Regions from separate parts of the Homo sapiens genome. Here regions 1 and 2 are each linked to region 3. The links are contacts of gene promoters, found by promoter capture Hi-C in blood cells and fetal thymus (Javierre and others, 2016). All regions are on one chromosome and are shown on one strand. The core of a region is centred on a gene start or on the middle of the fragment in contact, and the rest is flanking DNA. Distances in the headings are between cores, read along the strand shown. Region 1 overlaps CLTCL1 (clathrin heavy chain like 1). Region 2 holds the start of LOC124900485 (small nucleolar RNA SNORA15). Region 3 holds the start of CDC45 (cell division cycle 45).

Region 1 (4,075 bases), core at 148-2,647, 210 kb before region 3:
GGAGGTTACTCCACGTTCGTCAGGCTGGTCTCGAACTCCCGACCTCCAGGTGATCTGCCTGCCTCGGCCTCCCAAAGTGTTGGGATTACAGGCGTGAGCCACCACGCCCGGCCTTAATTTAATTTAATATTATTTTTAGGGACAGGGTCTTGCTCTGTCACCCAGGCTGGAATGCAGTGGCACGATAATAGCTCACTACAACTTCGAACTCCTGGGCTCAAGTAATTCTCCAGCCTTGGCCTCCCAAAGCACTGGGATTACAGACATGAGCCACCTGGCCTAGCCCTTTTTGTAAAGGGAGGTCCGAGAGCTGCTTCACGAGCCCCTTTCCAATCACAAAACTTCACCAGCCAAAATGGGAAAAATCTGTGAGATACAAGGTGCAGCACCCCCCCACACACCCTGTATTTCTGCACTGGATCCTAGAAGCTAGTCAAGGTGTGTGATATGGCAGAGGACTCTGAGGAGCTCACTTACAAATCAATCATCTCCATCAACCAATCACTATACAAACAACTCTTTCTTCAAAGACAGTTTGCTCATTTTGGTGTAGGGCCTTGAAAACACACTGTACATCCTCCACTTGTCAACGATTTGTACTACAATGATCTGAGATTTTACTGCTACAGAATTAGCAGTAAAAATAAGATAAAGCCTTAAAATTATGTCCCTTTTTGGTTCCAGAGTCTTACACTTCCCCCACGGAAAAGAAAACAAGACTCAACATGTTATAGTTGAAGTGATCTATATGACCATTAAGAACGAAAATAAAAAGCAGCAGCCCCTGCCACCTGGAAGCTGGCCTGGCAATCACAGCAAGGCCATGCTGCTCTCCTGATGGACATAAACCACCTTGGAGAACACCAGCCTCAGGCAAGGGCCCTCTGAGACCACGATCAAGTGAGACACAGCAAGCACAGAAAAAACAAGGTTACTGCGCAACTCACAAAATACCAACACGCCTCTCTTTCAGCTAAAATGAGTGACTGCTACTTCTTTACCCATTATAGCTTTAATCTCACTCTAGTCTTCCCTCCCTAATAGATGAAATTTATTGAGATACGCAATCATAAAAATTACCCCCACTTGCTGCCAACATCCAATCTACAGCAAACCCCTGCTTCCTTAGACTACCCCCTAAATCATCCAACCAAAGCCCAAATCCTATAAAAGGCTCTAACACCTTCTTACTGAGACACTCCCCAGTTCCCCATGGCGTGTGTTCTCTCCCACTGCAACAGTAAACCCACCTTCTTCAACTGCAAGTGTGTTCCTGGTGGTCTTTGGCTGGAAGGGATTGACAACATCTAACTATTGCGTTCTCTTTACTCCCCGACTCCACACCACAACACACACACACACACCCTAGGAGCTCCGCACTGCACATTGTTAAAGAGAACTGTACCAGAAAACCAGGAAGATTAAAATGCAGATCATTTCTGAGACCTGCTGAAAACACTAAACAGCAAACAAAACCGCAAACAACATGCTAAATAAGGCCTCTCAAAAGTACTACAACAAGGCTGGGTACAGTGGCTCATGCCTATAATCCAAGCACTTTGAGAGGCCAAGGCAGGAGGATCACTTGAGGCCAGGAGCTCAAGACCAGCCTGAACAACATGGTGGGACCCCCTTCTCTACAAATATTTTTTTAAGTACTACAACAACATAAAATGCAGAAAAGGGCGACACTGCAAGGCAAATATTCCATCAAAAAGAGCCAAGGGGTAAGTGACAAAGTAAGAGACAGATAAAAGCATCATTAATATCCCATAATTGTAATAATTTCTAACCAAAATCATTTATACTGCTTACACTATATGTTCAAATAATTACTTTGACAAGATTACAAGGGAAAAGGTAGGGTTGGTAATAGAACAAAGATCCTTTCAAATAAAAGAATTTCAGTTATTTCTTTTTAAATAGAAAGGTCTTAACTTTCAGATGTCCTTCTACCTACTGAAATGACCAAGTAGACACTATTTCTGTAATAAAATAGAAGCCTAGGCAAAGCTAATATTTGGCATTCACAAATTTTACCTCCAGAAACAGTTTTTGCTTTTCTTTGTTTCTTTTTTTTTTTTTTTTGAGACCGATTTTTGCTCTTGTTGTCCAGGCTGGAGTGCAATGGCGCGATCTCTGCTCACCGCAACCTCCACCTCCTGGGTTCAAGAGATTCTCCTCAGCCTTCCTGAGGAGCTGGGATTACAGGCATGCGCCACCACGCCCAGCTAATTTTTTGTATTTTTAATAGAGATGGGGTTTCTCCATGTTGGTCAGGCTAGTCTTCGAACTCCCAACCTCAGGTGATCTGCCTGCCTCGGCCTCCCAAAGTGCTGGGATTACAGGCATGAGTCACTGCGCCCGGCCCAGTTTTTGCTTTTCAAAGTAAGTGATACTGCATTTCACACAAAACATTAAGTCTACTGCATACATAATCCTTTTATTTGCCAAATGAAGGCAATATAAGAAGATTCTATATTTTTCAAGATAACTAGAAGGCTTTAAGCACCCAAGACTCCCTGATTTCAAGGAAGTAAAATTCTATTAATTATCAGCTCCTCTATCATTGATGTGTTTCACAGGAGGAAAACCCCCGAGCCTGTGTCGTCGGATGACCGGAAGCACCACTGCAGCAGGCCCTCAGGCAAGGGGGCCACACAGCCTTCCTGGGAAACATGCACAGTGCTGTTGTGCGTTCCTAGTCGCATGAAGACAAAGGCCTGGGCATTTTCTTCCTCTCGGTGTGTCTGGCGCTGTGGGTGATGTTACCAAGAAGCTCTGGTGCTCAGGGGCCTCTTACTAGGGCACACTAAACATAACTTTTGCTAAAACTTTTGGAATTAAGTGGAATACTATTGAGGAGCACTTCGCCATGAGCTTAGTGACACTTGTTCAATATTTAAGGTAACAAAGCAGTTAAAATGAGGTAAGATTCCTTTCTAACAATCCCATCGGGTTTACCTTTCAGAGCTATCACCTTAGAGGCTGGATTCATGATGGCACTCTCTGCAGAGATAGGCCGTCGGATCGGAGCCATTGGGTCACTCATGTCAATGATCGTGACCTGTGCCTGCTCACCAACTTTCTCTCGGATACATATGAACTTGTCAGATTCCATGGTCAGTGTGCTGAATCCAATGTTAGCTGGATTAATTCCAAGGTTTTGGAGCTAAACAGAAAAAAAGCATTTGATTAAATTTTTTTCCTCTGAAATGGACTGACTGTAGCCAAAGGCAAAAGAGGAGAAGTTAAATAAAATTTAGAAAAAAGTTAACATTAGGTAAACACTTGAAGGAAACATTAGCTTGCTTTTCTACGCCTGTAATAGATCCACCCAAGCCTGTGAATCAACTCTCCTTGAGAGATTACCAGCCCACAGTGGAGATAAGACATGTGCAGGATGACACTAGGCAGTGTCAAGGACGCCACAAGTGATACAGACAGGAGGAGATGAGTTGGGGGTGAACTCCCAAAGAACACCATCAGATAAGGTGTCACAGATAAGCCCACCACCGAGGAGAGCTTTGGGAGGAAGGAGGTCTTGGAGAGGTGAAGGCGAGGGAAGTGGAAGGGAAAAAGGGAGGAAACACAAAACCTGATTTCTCCAAAAGGCAAGAAAAAAGAACTGGCCAAAAGTTTTTGCTTAAACATTTCCCTAGATATCATCAAACCTGTCTACATCTGACTTGAATGAATTTCTAAGTCAGTGTGAATACTTCCTGGAGAGTCTGGGGTTAATAAGAAAGTCAGCAGGTTTGGCACATCTTCCAGGGCCGATGGACTGCTACTACTGTGTAAACTGAAACCAAGCACCTTTCTCCAAAGGCCATCTTATACGCAGTGCCTGGGCTAAATCAAGACCTGCTAATGGGATAAGCTTCAGTGAAAAACTCTGGGAAAACACATACTCAATAAATGTTTATCACTCCCACAAAGCACCAAGCTTATTTCTATAAATTTCTCTGCTCTGACCTACCTACAAGACACCTTTATTTACTTATTTACTTATTTATTTATTTATTTTTTGAGCCGGAGTCTCGCTCTGTTGCCCAGGCTGGAGTGCAGTGGTGCG
Region 2 (3,561 bases), core at 789-3,288, 230 kb before region 3:
ATCTCGGCTCACTGCAACCTCTGCATCCTGGGTTCAGGCGATTCTCCCGCCTCAGCCTCCCAAGTAGCTGGGATTACAGGCACATGCCACAACTCTCGGCTAATTTTTGTATTTTTAGTAAAGACGGGGTTTCACCACATTGGCCAGGCTGGTCTCGAACTCCTGACTTCAGGTGATCCTCCTGCCTTGGCCTCCCAAAGTGCTGGGATTAAAGGTGTGAGTCACCGTGCCTGGCCCCCAAGGGTATTTTTAAAAGCTTAATTGAGATATAATTCACATACCATAGAACTTATCTATTTAAAGCAAGCTTGTCCAACATGTGGCCCAGTATAGCCTTGTATGTGGCCCAAACACAAATTCATAAACTTTCTTAAAGCATTATGAACTTTTGGCTGGGCATGGTGGCTCACACCTGTAATCCCAGCACTTTGGGAGGCCGAGGCAGGCAGATCACCTGAGGTCAGGAGTTCGAGACCAGACTGACCAACATGGAGAAACCCCATCACTACTAAAAATACAAAATTAGCCAGGTGTGGTGGTGCATGCCTGTAGTCCCAGTTATTCAGGAAGGCTGAGGCAGTAGAATCGCTTGAACCCGGGAGGCGGAGGTTGCGGTGAGCCAAGACCATGCCACTGCACTCCAGCCTGGGCAACAAGAGCAAAACTCGGTCTCAAAAAAAAAAAATTATGAATTTTTTTGCAATTTTTGTTTTTAGCTCATCAGCTATTGCTAGTGTATTTTATGTGTGACCCAAGACAATTCTTCTTCCAGTGTGGCCCAGGGGATCCAAAAGATCAGACACCCCTGGTTTAAAGCATACCATCCAATGTTTCTTCGTATACTCAGAGGGCTGTGCAATCATCACTACAACATAGTTTTAGAACACTTTCATCCTTTGAAAGAAACCCTATTAGCATTCAATCCTCATTCCTATCTCCCAGACTCCACCTCCAGTCATAGGCAACTACTTATCTATTTTCTGTGTCTATAGGTCAGACTATCCTGAACATTTCAAATAAATGGAATCATATAGTATGTGGTCTTTTGTGACTGGCATCTTTCACTTAGCTTAATATTTCCAAGGTTCATTCATGATGTATTTTTAGTAGAGATGGGGTTTCGCCATGTTGGCCAGGCTGGTCTTGAAATCCTGACCACAGGGTGATCTGCCTGCCTCAGCCTCCCTCCCAAAGTGCTGGGATTACAGGCATGAGCCACTGTGCCTGGCCCTTCTAAGAGTTTTATAGGTTCAGTTCTTACATTTAGGTCTGATCGATTTTGAGTTTTTTAGTATTATGAGACAGAGGTCCCATTTAATGCTTCTGCATATAAATGTCCAGCGCCCCAAGACCTTGTATTGAACAACTCCTCTTTTTTTCACTGAACTGTCTTGGCAACCTTGTCAAAAATCAATTGACCACAAGGGATACAACACTTTGATTAGACTGGAGGAATAAGTTCAAATGATCATGCCTATAATCCCAGCACTCTGGGAGGCCGAAGCGGGCGGATTACTTGAGGTCAGGAGTTTGAGACCATCCTGGCTAACATGGTGAAACCCCATCTCTACTAAAAATACAAAAATTAGCAGTGCGTGGTGGCACGTGCCTATAATCCCAGCTACTCGGGAAGCTGAGGCAGGAGGATTGCTTGAACCCGGGAGGTGGAGGTTGCAGTGAGCCGAGATTGTGCCACTGCACTCCAGCCTCAGCGACAGAGCAAGACCCTGTCTCAAAAAATAAAAAAAATTAAAATTAAGAAATTAAAATTAATGAATTTTTAAAATATATATTTGCACTCTACTGATATTATTTTGATTCAGAGAAATATGTTCATAACTTATTAGAAATAACCTTGAGTAGTTTGAGACCAGCCTGGCCAACACGGTGAAACCCTGTCTCTACTAAAAACACAAAAAAAATTAGCCAGGCATGGTGGTGCACATCTATAATCCCAGCTACCTGGAAGGCTGAGATAGGAGAATCACTTGAACCCAGGAGGTGGAGGTTGCAGTGAGCCGAGATCGCACCATTGCACTCCAGCCTGGACAACAGAGCAAGGCTCTGTCTCAAAAGAAAAGAAAAAAAAAGAAATAACCTTGAGTAAATTTAAATTTATTTCTAAGTTGATGGTATGGCTAGGTTTTGATAATTTTTATTTGGTTTCCCTTCCCTTTAATCAGAAAATTAACTTTCATACCCTGTTCACAAACCATCAAAGCTGATTTTGAAACTTAAAAAAAAAATCGCCAGGTACCATGCAAAAGCAATCTTCCCTTTAGAATGACTGATGGTATGCTAAGGTTTTTCGTGGCATATTATTATTAAAGGTGAATACAAATAAATGGGCCGGGCGCGGTGGCTCACACCTGTAATCCCAGAACTTTGGGAGGCCGAGGTGGGCAGATCACTTGAGGTCAGGAGTTCAAGACCAGCCTGGCCAACATGATGAAACACTGTCTCTACTAAAAACGCAAAAATTAGCTGAGCATAGTGGCACACACCTGTAGTCCCAGCTACTCGGGTGGCTGAGGCAGGAGAATCACTTGAATCTGGAAGGTGGAGGTTGCAGTGAGCTGAGTTCGTGCCACTGCACTCCAGCCTGGGTGACAGAGTGAGACTCTGTCTCAGAAAAACAAAAAAAGAAAAGAAAGGAAAACAAAACCTGTTTTTTGGGCACATCACTTTTCTGGGACTCATCTGTTCTTTTTTTTTTTTTTTTTTTAATTTTAGAGACAGGGTCTTGTTCTATTGCCCAGGCTGGAATGCAAAGACATGATCATGGCTCACTGTAACCTTGAACTCCTGGGCTCAAGCAATTCTCCTGCCTGAGCCTCCCACGTAGCCAGGACTACAGGTGCATGCCACCACACCAAGCTAATTTGTTTGTCATCTATTCTCAAGTTAGTACCACATTCTATTTTTTTTAACTTTTTTAATTTTTTTTTAGACAAGGTCTCACTCTGTCACCCAGGCTGGAGTGTAGTGGTGCAATCTCAGTTCACTGTAACCTCCACCTCCCAGGCTCAAGCAATTCTCCCACCTCAGCCTCCAGAGTAGCTGGAACTACAGGTGCATGCCATCATGCCTGGCTAGTTTTTGCATTTTTTGTAAAAAATGGGTTTTGCCATGTTGCCTAGGCTGGTCTCGAACTCCTGGGCTCAGGTTATCCACCTTCCTCAACCTCCCAAAGTGCTGGGATTACAGGCATGAGTCACTGAGCCCAGCTAGTACCACATTCTGGATCACTGTAGGTTTGTGGCAAGTTTTAAAATTGGGAAGTATAAGTACTCCAACTTTTTATTTGTTTTATGGTTGTTTTGGCTATTCTGGGTTCCTTGCAATTCCACATAAATTTTAGGATCATCTTGCCAACTTCTACAAAGAAGCTAGCTGGTATTCCAATAGAGATTATGTTGAATTTGTAGACCAATTTGAGGAGTACTTCCATCCTAAAAGTATTAAATCTTCGAGTCCATGAACATGCAATATTTTTCGATTTAGATCTTCTTTAATTACTTCCAAACATGTTTTGTAGTTTTCAGAATGTAACTTTTGCAC
Region 3 (3,670 bases), core at 955-3,454:
AAAATTTCTTGACTTGATTCCAAATATATATTTAGTAGAAGGAATGCCACCTACTGACAAAGCAGTTTACTAGCAACTCCAAAATTAGCAAGCTGAATTAGCCATCTCCCAAAATGCAAACATAGCATGTTCCCGCCTAAAATCTGGGATGGTTCTTTACTCCCTGGCACTCTAACACAGTAATTTCCAATCTTTTGTCTTTCTTCTTTTAAGCAGCATAACTGTTCAGCTAAATCTTGGCCAGAACCATAACACAGGAAATAGCGTTTCTGGGTGAACAAGGCCAGAACAGGGTAGGGGCTTGCTTCCCTTGAGTGCTTCTCACTAGCCAACCTATGTAAGCCATTTCTTCTCTTTGAATATAAAAGGTAAATCCGCACAAAGGGGCAACATACTTAACAACCTGCCTGCAGTTTACCCATGAACCCGACCTTCTGCCCCTTCTTTGCTGCTCCCGATCCCATCTCTCACTTTCCTTTTCAATCCCGAGACCTAGCACACTGCCTGGAACATATCAGGTATTCTTGAGTGGATGAACTCAAGAATAGAAATAAGCCAGGGTTTGACAGTGACACACTTGGGATAAAATCTAACAATCATTCCTTGTCTTTACTAAAATAAACAGGTGACAGGAAGACAATACCGTAGAGTGCTTTGCAGCCAGACAGACTTGGCTTCAACTCTCCAGTCCCTACTTCTGTGACTCGAATAAAGTACCTCTGTAAACGTTAGTTTTCTCATGTTTAAAATCATCATCATCCTTGCTTCCAAAGGGATTGTAGGGATTAAAAGAAATAAGCCGCGATGAGGGAGTACAGGTGTTAAAAGCTGTGTAACAGGAAATGTACCAGCAGGTATTAGCTTCCATCGTTATCATTACCGAACACAACACCGCTGTACAGATTCGAAGGCACGAACCCGTAGGCACGGAGCTCACGGAGCTGGGGCAAGAGCTGGGTGTCCCCCAAGAGCGGGGGATGCCCACTACGGATTCTCCCTGGGGAGCGCCCTGATTCTGTTCCCATCCCCAGCAACCTTGCAACTAACTTTGGGTTTATGGAAACCTGTTGCGCGTCCAGCACTTGGGAAACCCGTGAATGGACACAAACCTTCCTTTCTTTCGTCAAGGAGGGCAAGTCCGGCTGAGACAGAATGCGAGCCACGTTCAGGACCGGCGGACGCGACCACAGGCGGTTAGTGGTCAAGGGTCCTGCTTGTGCCCGGTGCGGCCGATGAGCCTGCAGGCCGGACTCAGGCCCGGGTGACTCGGCACCTCCGCCGCCGTCCCGCCCCGCCCTGCCCCGCCGGGCCCTACCTCAGGCCCCGGGCCAAGGCCCAGCCCCCGCCCGCTGCCCGTCAGCGCTTACCATGATGGACACCACCTGGCAGACTCCGCTCCTCTCAGGCAATGCAACGAAGAAACCCCGCCGACCGCTCTCCCAGCCGCCGCTGCCGCTGCCGCCGCGCCAAGCCGGTACGCCCCAGAGGCTCACCGGAAGTGCCGGACCCGAGACCCGGAGGGGGGGTGCCCGGGACAAAGCGTCGGCTGCAAAAGAGAAAAGGCCAGGCGAAGACGCTAGGCTCTAAAACACCCTCAGTAGAAGCATTAAAATGCCCTTTCGTGATTTATTTCCCCTTTTATAGGTATTTTTAAACGTTATTTTAAATTACGTGTTGACAGTATTCCCCTCCAGACGAATTTAGTAGGGCCCATTGTCCTTACGACTACACTACCCACAATGCACTACCCAGACTGCCTCTGCTTCAGCCATCGAGGACTCGGGCGGAACTAAGCTACAAATCCTTCTTCAAACCACACCAAAAACCTATTGCAAACGTAAATGCTGCCCCATTGGGTATGTGACTGAGTTTAATGTATGGTTAGAAGTATACTTTCCCTGAGGGTTCCCAGTGGGAGGCAGTAGGCTTCTCTTCCCAAAGTAAAGATGTCCGCCCAGCGTCGCTTTTCTGGGTAAAAGCGAGTCAGAGTTGAAGGGGGCAACAGTGTTTGCGTTCGGCCTCAGAGGTGACGCTTCTTTGGGGGCGGGCTGGAGTTTTCTGGCCGTGAATGGCAGAGCGCTAATGGCCGCCTCCAATGTGGCCCAATCAGAAAGAAAGGAAGGCTGGGAACTAAGAAGCTATTGGTTGGTGATCCCTGGACCAATCGGAGGAGCCGTGATTTGGCGGGAGTCTTGACCGCCGCCGGGCTCTTGGTACCTCAGCGCGAGCGCCAGGCGTCCGGCCGCCGTGGCTATGTTCGTGTCCGATTTCCGCAAAGAGTTCTACGAGGTGGTCCAGAGCCAGGTGACGCCCAGTCCGGGACCCCCGCCGAGGCCTTGCCGGTGGGGAAGGGATGAGGGGGAGCGACCGTGGGTGACCGGGAGGCAGGGGAGGGCCGGGGTTCGGGTCGCCGTGTTCAGCCGGTCTGCTCTTCCCCGATAGAGGGTCCTTCTCTTCGTGGCCTCGGACGTGGATGCTCTGTGTGCGTGCAAGATCCTTCAGGTGAGTTCTGCGGACCCTAGGAGGGCGGGGCCGGCGCGCGAGGTGAGGGTGCTGCGTGGGGGCGCAGGGCGGGCAGAGTGTCAGGATGGGTGCTGAGGGCTTAGGGTGGGAGAGGGAGCAGGGCAGGAGGTGAACAGCAAGTGAGAGGAGAGAGACTCGGAGGAGAGGTTGCCTCCCTGTCCCAACGGTGTGGGGTGGGATAAAGGATTAAGTAAAAGGTAAAGAGACTAGTTTGTATTTTTGCAATAAGCTATTAATATTAATAGGTGAACACAGCAGTTGCATTTGGGGGAAACTTTGGATCTGTCGTGGCCTCTCAAATGGGGGATTTGAGAGAGAGGAATCTGTGACAACTGTGGGTATAGTCGTGTCACAGGTGTTGCTGGGAATATGGGAGCCCCTAGTCTATTAGGGAAGATCGTTAGTTTGGTTTTGAATAGGGCATAGTATTTACGTTGTTTTGGTCAGGCCCTTGGATCAGGAACTTTTCAGAAGGCCTGGAAGTTAAATCGGCATTTCTCCCCGATGTTTTACTTTGGTAATTTGCAAAATTCACAGAATGGTATGGTAAACGCTCATATCCCTAGCACCTAGCTTTTCCCGTAAGCATTTCACTAGCTTTAATGTTATCCCGTGTCTTTTGTCTCTCAACCCGTCTAATCTTCCTCAGTTTCTTTTCAAGGTAAATTGCTAATGTCCTAAATAAGATAGGCTTTGAAAACACTCTCTCTCCAGGCCTTGTTCCAGTGTGACCACGTGCAATATACGCTGGTTCCAGTTTCTGGGTGGCAAGAACTTGAAACTGCATTTCTTGAGCATAAAGAACAGGTATTGAAGATGCGTTTTAGAATAACGTGGCTTTTTACTCAATTGTAATTTCTTGACACAGCATTCTATTTCCACGATAGATTAAGCGTGTATTTAAGTATCAGCTACATTAGGCAATATGGAAGAGAAAAACATGCTGTATTTACTGGTGACTTACCACGCCCAAGTTGTAGAAGCAAAATTGACAGCAAAAAAAGATAATGAATGTGGATAGCCCCAACTTTGAACTTGTTTTAACTTGTTTTGCAGAAATTTGATTGTAAGGTGCTTGGAATCTAGCAGTTTTTAATATGGTCTAGTTAAAATTATTTTATTTTATTTTGGTTTATTTTTTTATTTT

What was found. The method cuts DNA at HindIII sites, captures the fragments that hold promoters and counts their contacts. A CHiCAGO score of 5 or more calls a contact.
Region 1: a contact is called between a fragment that was not itself captured here and the fragment with the promoter of CDC45 in region 3, in 2 of 17 cell types (total B cells and naive B cells). The highest score is 6.7, in total B cells.
Region 2: a contact is called between a fragment that was not itself captured here and the fragment with the promoter of CDC45 in region 3, in 1 of 17 cell types (total B cells). The highest score is 5.2, in total B cells.

The regions. Positions count from the first base shown.
Region 1 is chr22:19,272,659-19,276,733 of GRCh38, forward strand. CLTCL1 (clathrin heavy chain like 1) reads right to left here. Exons shown (of 33, transcript NM_007098.4): 2 at 2,965-3,172. Among named protein-coding and RNA genes, the nearest start is that of CLTCL1, 17 kb to the right of the region's middle. RefSeq lists enhancers at 2,138-2,639, 2,640-3,139. The HindIII fragment of the contact is 4,962 bases long and covers 1-3,878 here.
Region 2 is chr22:19,247,625-19,251,185 of GRCh38, forward strand. The region is part of intron 3 of CLTCL1 (clathrin heavy chain like 1); the gene reads right to left. LOC124900485 (small nucleolar RNA SNORA15) reads left to right here and starts at 2,216; the gene lies at 2,216-2,342. The HindIII fragment of the contact is 3,467 bases long and covers 306-3,561 here.
Region 3 is chr22:19,477,716-19,481,385 of GRCh38, forward strand. It overlaps CDC45 (cell division cycle 45), which reads left to right and starts at 2,205. Exons shown (of 19, transcript NM_003504.5): 1 at 2,205-2,304; 2 at 2,443-2,502; 3 at 3,238-3,330. The coding sequence starts at 2,254. It overlaps UFD1 (ubiquitin recognition factor in ER associated degradation 1), which reads right to left and starts at 1,478. Exons shown (of 12, transcript NM_005659.7): 1 at 1,368-1,478. The coding sequence starts at 1,370. RefSeq lists silencers at 1,245-1,314, 2,105-2,154 and an enhancer at 1,715-2,014. The HindIII fragment of the contact is 12,348 bases long and covers 1-3,670 here.